2 separate regions of the Homo sapiens genome follow, and region 1 is linked to region 2. The links are contacts of gene promoters, found by promoter capture Hi-C in human tissues and cell types (Jung and others, 2019). All regions are on one chromosome and are shown on one strand. Each heading gives the region's core, a stretch centred on a gene start or on the middle of the fragment in contact. The rest is flanking DNA. Distances are from core to core; before and after follow the strand shown.

The links. The method cuts DNA at HindIII sites, captures the fragments that hold promoters and counts their contacts. A contact is called where the count stands out against the background at its distance.
Region 1: a fragment that was not itself captured here is called in contact with the fragment with the promoter of CLPX in region 2 in 1 of the 25 tissues and cell types used here (dorsolateral prefrontal cortex).

The regions. Positions count from the first base shown.
Region 1 is chr15:65,794,137-65,800,861 of GRCh38, reverse strand. The region is part of intron 1 of LOC105370866 (a long non-coding RNA gene); the gene reads right to left. Among named protein-coding and RNA genes, the nearest start is that of DENND4A, 5.2 kb to the right of the region's middle. The HindIII fragment of the contact is 3,881 bases long and covers 1-3,287 here.
Region 2 is chr15:65,180,765-65,187,448 of GRCh38, reverse strand. CLPX (caseinolytic mitochondrial matrix peptidase chaperone subunit X) reads left to right here and starts at 2,107. Exons shown (of 14, transcript NM_006660.5): 1 at 2,107-2,374. The coding sequence starts at 2,296. RefSeq lists a silencer at 1,859-2,168 and an enhancer at 1,590-2,474. The HindIII fragment of the contact is 6,593 bases long and covers 629-6,684 here.

The DNA.
Region 1 (6,725 bases), core at 98-2,597, 610 kb before region 2:
TGCAACTTGGCCAGTTTCACTGAACTCTTTTTTTCTTTCTTTCTTTTTTTCTTTTCCGTTTTTTAGATGGAGTCTTACTCTGTCGCCCAGGCTGGAGTGCAGTGGCACGATCTTGGCTCACTGCAACCTCCGCTTCCCAGGTTCAAGCGATTCTCCTGCCTCAGCCTCCTGAGTAGCTGGGATTATAGGGGCACACCACCACGCCGGCTAATTTTTGTATTTTTAGTAGGCACAAGGTTTCACCATGTTGGCCAGGATGGTCTTGATCTCCTGACCTCATGATCCACGCGCCTTGGCCTCCCACAGTGTTGGGATTACAGATGTGAGCCACCGCACCCAGCTGGATGGGGTAATATATTAACAGTAAAGAATCTGAATGAAGCCCATCCTTAGGTGAAAGTTTACAAATATTCCTAATGTTGTAGTATACCAAGACTTACTTCTTGCTAGCTATCAACCACCAAAAAACATGCATTTCCCTAATAATTAGGTAATGTTCAATATTCAGTCGTGCAAAATAGAAATCTAGTCTTACAAAATAAATAGTCTTGTAATCTTTCCTGACAACTAGCAGAGTGCATTGTATATAACAGTACAAAGATTGAGGGAATGAATTCTATGCCTAGGCACATGGCATTTAAGATTTTACTTTTTAAAAATCCACAAGGCAGTGTGGTTTGGTAGAAGCCTATTGGCCCAGGGATTGTAAGGCGTCTAGCCATGTGATTTGGGAAAACTCATTACGCCTTTCTGAGCTTTAGTTTCTTCATCTCCAAAATAGGATTTTCCTATGTATCCAGTGTATTTCATGGGGAGTTTGGAATGCTGAATTCCAAGAACCGATTGATATTTATGTAAAAGACAAACTAAAAAACTAGGAATCTAGGAATCTGGATTCTAGTCCTAGCTCTTCTCATGCTTTTGGGTGTACTGTATATGACTTTGGACAAGCCGCAGAGGGAAATGGTCACTTTTTGAAAATGAAATGTTCACTAGATGATCTCTGAGATTCATTCCTGCTAAAAATAATCCTATGTTCTGGATCAGAGAAACATGAAATCAATTTATGAGTGTCATTCTCATGAAGACATTATGATGTAGGTCAGATGATAAACTGTAAATCCATTTTTTAAAAATTGCCTGCCTCACATTAACTTTTTTATAGCCCAATCCATTTAGCCCTACCCTTGTCCAATTGTCCTACATGTTACCTAAACTCTAACCTTGAGATCTTCCTTTGCAACTGATGACCATTTTTATTACCCTTAGTATTTCAACTCCTGGCCCTACCCTTGCAGCAAACAGGGCCTTACTTTATGTGATCATCAGAATTTGAAATGGAAGAATATGTTTCTTGTCTCTTTTCATAATGCCACTAATTCCCCATTCCCTTTTAGCATACAGCTAGTTAAAAATGAATTGTATTATTAGGGAGACTGAGGCAGGAGGATCACTTGAGCCCAGGAGTTTGAGACCAGCCTGTGCAACATAGTGAGACCTTGTCTCAAAACCAACAAATAAAAACCAAAAAAAAAAAAAAAACCCAAAAAACAAAAAAAATGAGCTGTATAATTATATCCTCTCTTTAGCCTGACATCAAGGGTTCTGTGGATCTCTTTTCTTCAACTGTACCATCCATTACCTTCCAGAGAGAACTGCACAGGTAGGGAGCAGTTTGCACCCCCTGATTGTGCCATCTTCAAAAGCCTTTCTTTCGGCCAGGTGTGGTGGCTCACAACTGTAATCCTAGCACTTTGGGAGACCGAGGTGAGTGAATCATCTAAGGTCAGGAGTTTGAGGCCAGCCTGACCAGCATGGTGAAACCTCGTCTCCACTAAAAATACAAAAATTAGCTGGGCGTGGTGGCGCATGCCTGTAATCCCAGCTACTTGGGAGGCTGAGGCAAGAGAATCGTTTGAACCCCAGAGGCAGATGTTGCAGTGAGCCAAGATCGTGCCATTGCACTCCAGCTGGGGCAACAATAGCAAAATGCCATCTCAACAAAGTAAAAAAATTTTAAAGAAAATAAAATAAAAGCCTTTCTTCCATTTCAGATCTAATATAGTCAAGTAAAAGCCTCATCTCAATTCGACTTCCTTCTGTTTCTCTTTTAGCATAATTTTAAACTATGTAAGTTATTATGACATAAATCTAATACATCAATGTTTATTAAAATTAAATCTGCCGTTAAGATAATTACAACCAGATATGAATACTTGCAGGGTTATGAATGGGAAATGTAGAGGAAGGCTTTCCATTTCTAGGAGATAATAAAGTGATGCTGACACTAGAGAGCCCAAAATAGCTTTGGGGGATTATTTAATTAACAAGGTAACCACCTTACAAGAGGCTTTAGAAATCTTTTTTGTTTTAAATTTAAATGTTTATTATTAAAAGTCTATTGTTCTCCAAATCTTGAATAAGCTAATAGTTAAGAGTTTCTCCCTTCTGGACTAACTTTGCCCTTGATTTGGCGCACCTGATATAACTAACTGATCAATTTCTTTGTCTGCAGGCACATACGTAGGAAAGAACAAGATGCTTTTAGGGGCGGCAGCAGCTTAAATGCTTTCTCTCAATTAAGAGCCTTGTGTTGACAGTCTGAAAGTGTTCCAAATGAGAGACTATCTCCACCACACTAGAGAGGGGTAGGGGAGAGAGAAGCATAGGCCCTAGTCCCCTGCTCTTCTTAGGTAACATCAGGACTGGACATTGATGAACTTTCCACCAGGAATAGAAAGGAGAGGAGGAAGCTAGGAATCTCCAGTGATGTCTGGAACAACTGATCATGTTTCCTTAGAAAAATCAGCCTGCCAACACAGGGATGGATGAAGAAGGAAAGAGAAGAGATAGAAAATCCAGCTGGGCGTGGTGGCTCACGCCTGTAATCCCAGCACTTTGGGAGGCCGAGGCTGGTGGATCACTTGAGGTCAGGAGTTTGAGATGAGCTCGTTGCCTGGCCAACATGGTGAAGTCCCCTCTCTACTAAAAATGCAAAAATTAGCTGAGCATGGTGGCATGCACCTGTAATCCCAGTTACTCAGGAGGTGTAATCCCAGTTACCTGGGAGGTGGAGGTTGCAGTGAGCCAAGACTGCGCCACTGCACTCCAGCCTGGGCAACAGAAAGAGACTCTATCTCAAAAAAAAAAGAGAGAGAGAGAGATAGGAAATCCAATTAGATGACTACTGCAAAATTTCAGGCTAAAAAACAAACCAAAAGGTGTGGGTTTGAACTAGGTCAGTGGGAATGGGGATGAAGTGAGGGAGGATACTACTGATGTTAAGGAGATGACAACAATTCTTTTTCAAGATTAATTAGGTGTCAATGAATGAGGGAAAAAGAGGAGTTGATGACTCAGGTTTTGACTTTTTTTTTTTTTTTTTTTTTTTTTTTTTTGAGATGGAGTCTGTCTCCCAGGCTGGAGTGCAGTGGCATGATCTTGGCTCACTGTAACCTCCGCCACCTGGGTTCTAGTGATTCTCCTGACTCAGCCTCCAGAGTAGCTGGGACTACAGGTGCATGCCCAGCTAATTTTTGTATTTTCGGTAGAGACAGGGTTTCACCATGTTGGACAGGCTGGTCTCGAACTCCTAAAAAAAAAAAAATTCAGTCTCCACAGGCGGCTTTAGCTTTTAGGTGCATGGTGAGTTCAACTATAAATTATTCAGGAAATGAGAAATTATAGGAGTAACAGGTTTGGGGTAAAGATAATGACTTCACCTTTAAATGCTGAATTTCAGGTATACTTGGGACTGAGCTATCTGGAGGCAGTTGAATACACAATCCTGAAGTGCAGGAGAGAGGTATGGACTAAAGACGTGTGTGTCTCCTATTCTGAGTGATTATATAGACAGAAAAGAGGAGGGCTTTTTTTAAATTTTTTTTTTAGTTTATTCTCAATTGCAGGTGTTTCCCCTTGCTGGCAGAGTTCCTTTAAGTCTTGACAATAAAAAGGGCATTCTTGTTGTCCACCCTTGTAGGATGCATGTCTGGGCCAATCAATAAAAAGAAAAGACTTGTGGTGTCTGATTTGTTCTGCTTCAGGTTTCCCAAATAGCCTAGCTATAACAACAGTGCTGAGTTCATGAGAAAAGCTGACTCATATTTCCTGCAAGTCAGCACAGATATCCATCCTTCCAAAGAATTTGAACCTCTGGCCACTCCCAAAGACAATCAAAGTATTGCAACAATTTATGAGCATCTCTTTCTTTTGTTAGCTCTATTATAAAGATGCAAAGTAAAAACAAACAAACAAACACACCTTTCCTTCCTTGTACCACCCTCAGCCCCGTTCCCCAAACAACGATGTCCTTATCCTTCAGAGAAAGTCCAGTTTCTCTCAGGGTTGGTCCAAATGCCATCTATTTTGTCTATTTTGTCACCTTCAATTCTCACAATGAGAATTAATCACTCCACTCGCTTGGGCTCCCATAGCAACGAGTTTATCCATCTAGCATAGAATTTGTCATAGTTTGACTTTTACTAAAGTTATATGCCTAGGAAATACTTTTTGCCTCTAATGTGTGCTTATCTGTCATTGCTTTCCTTCTGTGCCTAGTGCAGTGTTTTGTATACAAATGTTTTCTGAAGTGAATTTGTTAAAAGTTATGAAAATATTGTCTACCACTTCAAGAAAGTCAGAGGAGTATACTTCGTGGTCAATGACAGTTAAAATACATATTTTTAAAACAACTCCCCTGCAGATAATTTAAGAAGTAAAAATTCAACTTATAAGGAATTGCTGAAAGAGGTAAAATTGTTAATTTGAGGAAAATGTTGAGAAGTGATCATTTTCAGAAATTTGAAAAAGTGCTGAGTCAAAGATATGACTCCTCAGATGGCTACCAAAACGGCAGAGACAGCAATGGCTCAGACTGCTACAGCTCTCCTGTCCTTGGCCACTCTTCTCAAGCACCAGGTTTAGAATTTATATTTCTTTTTTTTTTTTTTTTTGAGATAGGATCTTGCTCTGTCACCCAGGCCAGAATACTGGGGTGGGATCTTAGCTCATCGCAGCTTTGAACTCCTGGGTTCAAGCAGTCTTCCCAACTCAGCCTCCCAAGTAGCTGGGACTACAGGCATGTGCCACCATGTCTGTTTTTTGTTTGTTTGTTTTTGTTTTTTTTTTGTAGAGATGAGGTCTTGATATGTTGCCCAGGCTGGTTTCAAACTCCTGGGCTCAAGTGATTCTCCCACCTCGGCATCTCAAAGTGCTGGTATTGCAGGCATGAGCCACCATGCCCAGCCAGAATTTCAGAATTTGTCACTTCTAACATGACTTTTCTTACTATTATTCTTGAAAATTGTTCAGATAATTTCTTTTTTCTTTTTTTTTTTTTTTGCAACCTCTGCCTCCTGGGCTCAAGTGATCCTCCCACCTCAGCCTCCCAAGTAGCTGGGACTACAGGCATGCATGCACCACCATCATGGGCTAATTTTTGTATTTTGGTAGAGATGGGGTTTTGCTATGTTGCCCAGGCTGGCAGATAATTTCTTTCAAAAATAATTTCATCAGGTTTGTGTTTTTAAGAAACAAATGGATAATTTGACCACATTGCTAATAAATTTTAGTTTTTGGATTAAATACATTGGAATGTCACTCAAACACTGTTTCACAGTGAATACAATTTGTCAATATGGATTCTGCTTTGTGACACATCTAAATAGTTTCTAATAGGCCATAGATCCCTGGTAGTTTTTCTCACCCATAAGGAAGCCCTGTAGCATAGCTATCAAGGACTGCTTTATGGGCCGGGTGTGGTGGCTCATGGCTGTAACCCCAACACTTTGAGAGACTGAGGAGAGCGGATCACCTGAGGTCAGGAGTTCGAGACCAGCCTGGCCAACATGGTGAAACCCCCATCTCTGCTAAAAATACAAAAATTAGCCAGGCGTAGTGGAGGGCGCCTATAATCCCAGCTACCCGGGAAGCAGGAGAATCGCTTGAACCCAGAAGGTAGAGGTTGCAGTGCGCCAAGATCACGCCACTGCACTCCAGCCTGGGCGACAGAGCAAGACTCTGTCTTAAAAAAAAAGGATTGCTCTCTAGAGGCTCCAGGTTTTCATTTAAAGATGTGAGAAACTTCTGGTATAGCAATTAAGGTGCATAGATTCAACAGGTGGAGAGGATTAGGCTGTACAACAGCTTGCGCTTCCATTGCTTTAAATGGTTATTGGTTTCATAGTTTTCCTTCATGCATCATTCAAATCACAGCATTTTAAAATAACTTCTAAGAAATAGCCGGATACAGTTCAACATATAAAATATGACAATTTCAGAAATGGCATGGGGCCAAAATTTATTATCCAAAAAATTCTATTTGGCTCATGTCTACATTGTTAGAATCCCTTGCCCAAATCACATCTAGGGTTTAGGTTTAACTGTGACTATAGTCACATATGCCTGGAGTGTTGAGAGGACTCCTGATATGACTGTTAAGGGGGGCTCTGAGGTACGATACTTCCTGGGTACACAGTCAAATGCTGCGTATTGGTTTTCTACTGTTTATCAATATTGTTCTTTAAGAAGCTATTTTCTCTGATTAAAAAAACCTTCACGCCTTTTAAACTTTTGAAAGGTTTTAGAATCTCATTGTGTATGCTACATGCAACTATATAACATTTTAATTGGTACTCTGTAGATGAAAATATTTGTGTGTATATATATATATATATGCACATATACATGTATAACCAACTAAAAGAGTGCTTTTGCTGCTAGTG
Region 2 (6,684 bases), core at 858-3,357:
AGAAAAAGAGGGCCTGCATGGTGGCTCACACCTGTAATCCCAACACTTTGGGAGGCCAAGGCAGGCGGATCATGAGGTCAATAGATCAAAACCATCCTGGCCAACATGGTGAAACCCCGTCTCTACTAAAAATACAAAAACTAGCTGGGCGTGGTGGTGTGCGCCTGTAGTCCCAGCTACTCAGGAGGCTGAGGTAGGAGAATCGCTTGAACCGAGGAGCCAGAGGTTACAGTGAGCCAGGATCGCACCACTGCGCTCCAGCCTGGCCACAGAGTGAGACTCCATCTCAAAAAAAAAAAAAAAAAAAAGACAAAAGAAAAAGTTTTACATAAAATGAAGACATAAAAAGTTATGTGCCTGACTGGGTGCAATGGCTCATGCCTGTAATCCCAGCACTTTGGGAGGCTGAGGCAGGCGGATCACTTGAGGTCAGGGGTTTGAAACTAACACGGCCAACATAGTGAAACTCTGCCTCTACTAAAAATACAAAAATTAACCGGGCATGGTGACGCATGCCTGTAATCCCAGCTACTCAGGAGGCTGAGGCAGGAGAATCACTTGAACCCAGGAGGCAGAGGTTGCAGTGAGCTGAGATGGTGCCACTGCACTTCAGCCTGGGTGACAGATGGAGACTCTGTCTCAAAAAAAAAGTTATGTGCCTTCAGCTATGTAGTTCGCAAAAAGTAAATAACTCAAGGAGTTAACTCCTCCAGTGTAAACTATTTGAGCTGGAAAACTGCACTTGACTTTCTTTTTAAAGCGTCATTAATCTGTCAGAAAACAGCTGAAAGTAGGTGTGATGTGGAAGGGCTGATGTGACCACAAGTATTTGCCATCACTTTCCTGGTGAAGGATCCATTTTCTCACAGGGATAATCTCAGATGGCTCTGGGTTTTTTTTTTTTTTTTTTGAGACGGAGTCTCGCTCTGTCGCCCAGGCTGGAGTGCAATGGCACGATATCGGCTCACTGCAACCTTCGCCTCCTGGGTTCAAGCAATTCTCCCACCTCAGCCTCCTGAGTAGCTGGGATTACAGGAGTACGCCACCACACCTACCTAATTTTTGTATTTTTAGTAGAGATGGGGTTTCACCATGTGGGTCAGGCTGGTCGCAAACTCCTGACCTCGTGATCCACCTGCCTCGGCCTCCCAAAGTGCTGGGATTACAGGTGTGAGCCACCACGCCCAGCCGGCTCTGTGCTTTTGAATTCATAACTTGAGAGGATGGCCTGATAGGAACCTGACCAGAGGTTATCTATGCAGTGCCATCCTTAATCACGGCCGGGTGCGGTGGCTCACGCCTGTAATCCCAGCACTTTGGGAGGGCGAGGCGAGAGGATCACTTGAGCCCAGGAGTTTGAGACCAGCCTGGGCAACATAGGGAGACCTCATCTTTACTAAATTAAAAAAAAGAAAGAAAGAAAAGAAAACCCTCAAGACTTTAAAGCACCCACGGACTAGCAACAGCTAGAAGCTTTATCACCACGAGGCCTGAAAGAACAAGGAGACGGAGCTGTTACCAACTAACAATTGCTGCTCAGGGAACTAACTGACAATACCAACTCCATGTTACAAGTGATGAAACTAAGGAGAATGAGAAGATAAGGAACACAGGATGTGGAATTCCGGGGGAAGAAATTTAGTGAATCTGAAGCATCCAGCGCCTACCAAGGCACTTTAGAGACTTCCCCCTGGAGGGTTAAGCCACCAGCCTCACCTTGACCTTCCCTGCCGCCCACTAAAAGTGACCGGAAGAGCTCGACTATGACGACTCGGGACTACAAGTCCCGGCATGCATCTCTCCGCGTCTATCGCAAAACCTTTCAACTTTAGGATAAAAGGGCTTTTGGCAACCTTGAGCGTCGGGACCTGTAGTCGCCCCAGTTGGGGCTAGACGCTTGCCGTAGGGAACTCATTGGCGCCCAGGGCACCACCCCCTCGCCTTCGCCTCACGTAGCTTCACCAGCTCGCAAACACGGCGCGTGCCCACGCCCTCCGCCCCCTCCCCGGGCCTAGGGCGCAGGCGCGCGCAAGCTCCCCGGGCCCAGTAGGCTGGGGGTGGGGGTAGAAGGAGAAGGAGGGGAAGGGAGGGGGGGGTTGGGTGTCTACTCTGGTGAATAGACGGCTGTGGGGCAGAGAAGCGTGAAGGCCTGGCTGCCGGGCAGGTGAACTCTCCACGGGGTCTAGGGCCCGCGAAAGGGTTCGGAACCGAGTCAGCGCGCCTTGCGGGCAGGATTCACGCCGCTGTGACCCGGAGGTCCTCAGGGGGCGAAGCCCCGGCCTAGGCCTCGCGGAGATGCCCAGCTGCGGTGCTTGTACTTGCGGCGCGGCGGCCGTCCGGCTCATCACCTCCTCACTCGCCTCCGCGCAGAGAGGTAACGAAATAGTGCCACTCCTGAGCCCTCAGCCTGTCGGGGGGGGGGTGGACTGGCCAATGGTTGGGGGCCCCGGGGAGGGCACGAGGCCTGCTGCACCCGGGGAGTGTGAGGGAATGCGCGGCGCTTCGCCCGGCACCCACCACTTTCCCCGTGGAATGGGGCTCTGCCAACCTCTGGAGCAGCCGTTGCTCAAATTGGAAGTAAACTCCTTCCCACGCGCCTGCCTGCACGCTTTCAGGCCTGCTGACTTTGGGGCCGGAATGCGGCCACTTTGTAGAAACCCTGAAAGGCACAAAATGCTCCTGTTATTAAAAAATGTCTCCAGATCCCACTCAGCCCTGCCGGGGACCGCCGCCTGCCATGGCTGCGGCTCTTCTTCCGCAGCCTGGCCGGGATCCCCCTCGGGCCCGTTGGGGGCTCCAGGAGGGGCTCGGCTGAGGATCTGTCCCTACTAGGGTCCCCCAGGACTCGGGGCACCCAGCTGGCCGTCCCGGACGCAAGCCGCGCGATACCCGAGATGTTACTATCACTGTGCGGCCCTGACACTGGGACATAAACAAGGTTCACAATACTTCCCGGCGTCAGGCAAGCCCCGGGGCCCGCAGGACAGCGGCGGGAGAGATGGGGAGAAGTCCCGCAGGAGTTGGTTCGGAAGTACTTGGGTGTTTCAGCAGTCCTTTGCTGGCTTTCCCAACTTGACCGGGAGGTAGTTTCCTAAGAGTGGCGCATGTTGTTTACCTTTTCTTTCTGTTTATCTGAAGCTGTGAAAGAATGGCGCCCCAGCCAAGAGAGTCTGGAAAATAAACTTTTTTTCTCTTCCTCAAATCTGTGGAAGTCAGACCACGAGGCTAGATCCTGTTATAATGACTGACTTCTAGACAAATTCGTTTTATTTTGGCTTATCGGTTTATGACCCTTGGATGGATTTTTAAAAAGGCCCCTTTTATCTAACTTCTAAGCCAATTATAAAATCCTTATTGTTTACTAAATATATCTTCCAGTTTCTTTACTACAGAAGGAAGGATTGAATGAGGTAACGTGGGCAGAAGCATTTTGTAAAATGATATATAAATGTAAGGGAGTAAATTTAATCCTAAATCGATGTTAAGCCTCAACCAGTAGATGTCCCGATTCCAGGAATTCGATTTGCAAACACTTTAAAGTGACATATTTTAATCCATTTATCTGATATATATTAATATTTGTCAAGGGTCCACTGTGTGTCAGGCCTTCTTTTAGTGCTGGAGGTAGAGTGGTGAATAAGTCCTCACCCTCATGTTTAAATCTAGTGGAGTAGACAAAGAATAATACAGTTTCCAGTGGGTGGATGAAGTATGTGTGTGTTCCCTTTGGTCAGGGACGGCTTCTTTGAAAGTGTTACTGATCTCTTGTAGCCAAGAGTCCGTGAACATTTTTGAATCATAGGAGATAGGCAGTTATTTTTTTTTCTTTTCAAAACGACTGTTTTCTTTCTTTTTCTTTTCTTTTCTCCTTCCTTCCTTCCTTCCTTTCCTTCCTTCCTGTCTTTCTTTCCTTTCTGTCTTTCTTTCCATCTACTATCTGTCTTTCTGTCTGTCTTATTTTCTTTCTTTTTTTTTTTTTTTTTTTTTTGAGACAGAGTCTCGCTCTGTCGCTCAGGCTGGAGTGCAGTGGCCAGATCTCAGTTTACTGCAAACTCCGCCTCCTGGGTTCACGCCATTCTCCTGCCTCAGCCTCCCGAGTAGCTGGGACTGCAGGCGCCCGCCACCACGCCTGGCTAATTTTTGTATTTTTAGTAGAGACGGGGTTTCACCGTGTTAGCCAGGATGGTCTCGATCTCCTGATCTTGTGATCCGTCCGCCTCGGCCTCCCAAAGTGCTGGGATTACAGGCGTGAGCCACCGCGCCTGGCCTCTTTTTGTGTGTCTGTCTTGATGGAATCTGCTAAGTTGCCCGGGCTGGAGTGCAGTAGCGCGATCTCGGCTCACTGCAACCTCCGTCTCCTGGGTTCAAGCAATTCTTCTGCCTCAGCCTCCTGAGTAAGCTGGGGTTACAGGCGCGCGCCACCACGCCCCACTAATTTTTATATTTTTAGTAGAGACGGGATTTTGCCATGTTCGTCAGGCTGGACTCCAACTCCTGGACCCCAGGAGATCACCCGCCTTGGCCTCCCAAAGTGCTAGGATTACAGGCTTGAGCCACCGCACCCGGACTAGTATTTCTTTTTAAAAACAGTTGTTCTGAAATTTAGAAAGCTTTGTCTGTATGATAAAGTTCTGTAAATAGTGAAACTTAAATTGTCTTTTCTGGTTGCTGCCAGGTAATCTGGTGAAATATACTTTACAGAAACACTTCTCTTTTTTGGCTTTCAGAGCTTCACCTGGGGTTTACAGGCCTCCAAAGGGTCCTTGAATAGAATTCAGAGATTCTGTGAACTTTATTTTCACTAAGCTCTAACTGAAACACAACGTTTCCTTGGCCTATGAATGTGGGCAACACATCCACAGTAGTCTTAGAAGTGTCTGTGGATTTGTCATCAATCAAAATCAGAAATATTTTCATATCACATTATAGTTGCTGATATTTCAGAATATTGTCCATACTTTTTGCTACTTTGAAATCATAGTAATTATTTAAAAAGCTGTTAGATCTTATTTAATTTTGCTTGTTAATAAAGAGGCATATTTTAAAAATTTTTTGATAACTACTTCATTATAATTTGTTTCCTTTGTTATGTATTTTATTTTATACATTTAAAAATATTATTCTGAGAAGATCTATTCAGAGGCTTCACCAGACTGCTTAAGGGGTTCATGGCACAAAAAGTGTTAGAAATCCCAATTACTTTGCTACAGAGCTTTATCATTTTTATGAGGATTTTATGATTGGTGAATGGTCATTTTGATTGATTGCATCTGTCACTCTCCCTCAATTACTTTTTCTTTTTCTTTCTTTCTTTCTTTTTTTTTTTTTTTGAGACGGAGACTCTGTTGCTTAAGCTGGAGTGCAGTGGTGCCATCTCGGTTCACTGCAACCTCTGCTTCCTGGGTTCAAGCGATTCTTCTGCCTCAGCATCCCGGGTAGCTGAGACTACAGGCGCGTGTCACCATGCCCAGCTAATTTTTTGTATTTTTAGTAGAGATGGGGTTGCACCGTATTAGCCAGGATGGTCTCGATCTCCTGACCTTATGATCTGCCCCCCTGGGCCTCCCAAAGTGCTGGGATTACTGGCATGAGTCACTGCACCTGGCCCCCTCAATTACTTTTTCTAAGCCTACTTTTGGGATTGATACTATCTTTATTTATTTATTTATTTATTTATTTATTTATTTATTTATTTATTTTGCGACAGAGCCTCGCTCCGTTGCACAGGCTGGAGTACAGTGGCGCAATCTCGGCTCACTGCAACCTCTGCCTCGTTCAAGTGATTCCCCTGCCTCAGCTTCCCAAGTAGCTGGGATTACAGGCACCTGTCACCACGCCTGGCTACTTTTTGTATCTTTAGTAGAGACAGGGTTTCACCATGTTGGCCAGGCTGGTCTTAAACTCCTAACCTCAAGTGATCCACCCACCTCAACCTCCCAAAGTGCTGGGATTACAGGCGTGAGCCATCACACCTGGCTCCTTCAATTTTTTTATTGTGGTAAGATACATATAAAATTTACAAGACTTAACTATTTTTAGTGTATAGTTCGGTAGTATTAAGTACATTGATACTGTGCAACCATTGCCATCATCTTGTGAAACTGAAGCTCTGTACCCATTACAACAATAACTCTCCATTTTCCCCAACCCCCAGGAACCGCCATTCTACTCACTGACTCTATGATTTTGCCTTCTAAGTACCACGTGTAAGTGGAATAACACAATTTTTTAAAGAACTTTTTTTTTTTTTGAGACAGAGTCTCCCTCTGTTGCCCAGGCTGGAGTGCAGTGGCATGATCTTGGCTCACTGCAACCTCTGCCTCCTGGGTTCAAGCAATTCGCCTGCCTCAGCCTCCTGAGTAGCTGGGATTACAGACGCCTGCTAGCACACCCAGCTAATTTTTGTATTTTTAGTAGAGACAGGGTTTCACCACGTTGGCCAGGCTGGTCTCGAACCCTGGGATTACAGGCATGAGCCACCGCGCCTGACCTTAAAGAACATTTGAAGTTTGTTTCCATTGTTACAGATTTTTTTTTTTTTTTTTGAGATGGAGTCTCGCTATGTCACCCAGGCTGGAGTGCGGTGGCACGACTTCAGTTCGCTGCAAACTTCGCCTCCCGGGTTCAAGCGATTTTCCTGCCTCAGCCTCCCGAGTAGCTGGGATTAAAGGCGCCCACCACCAT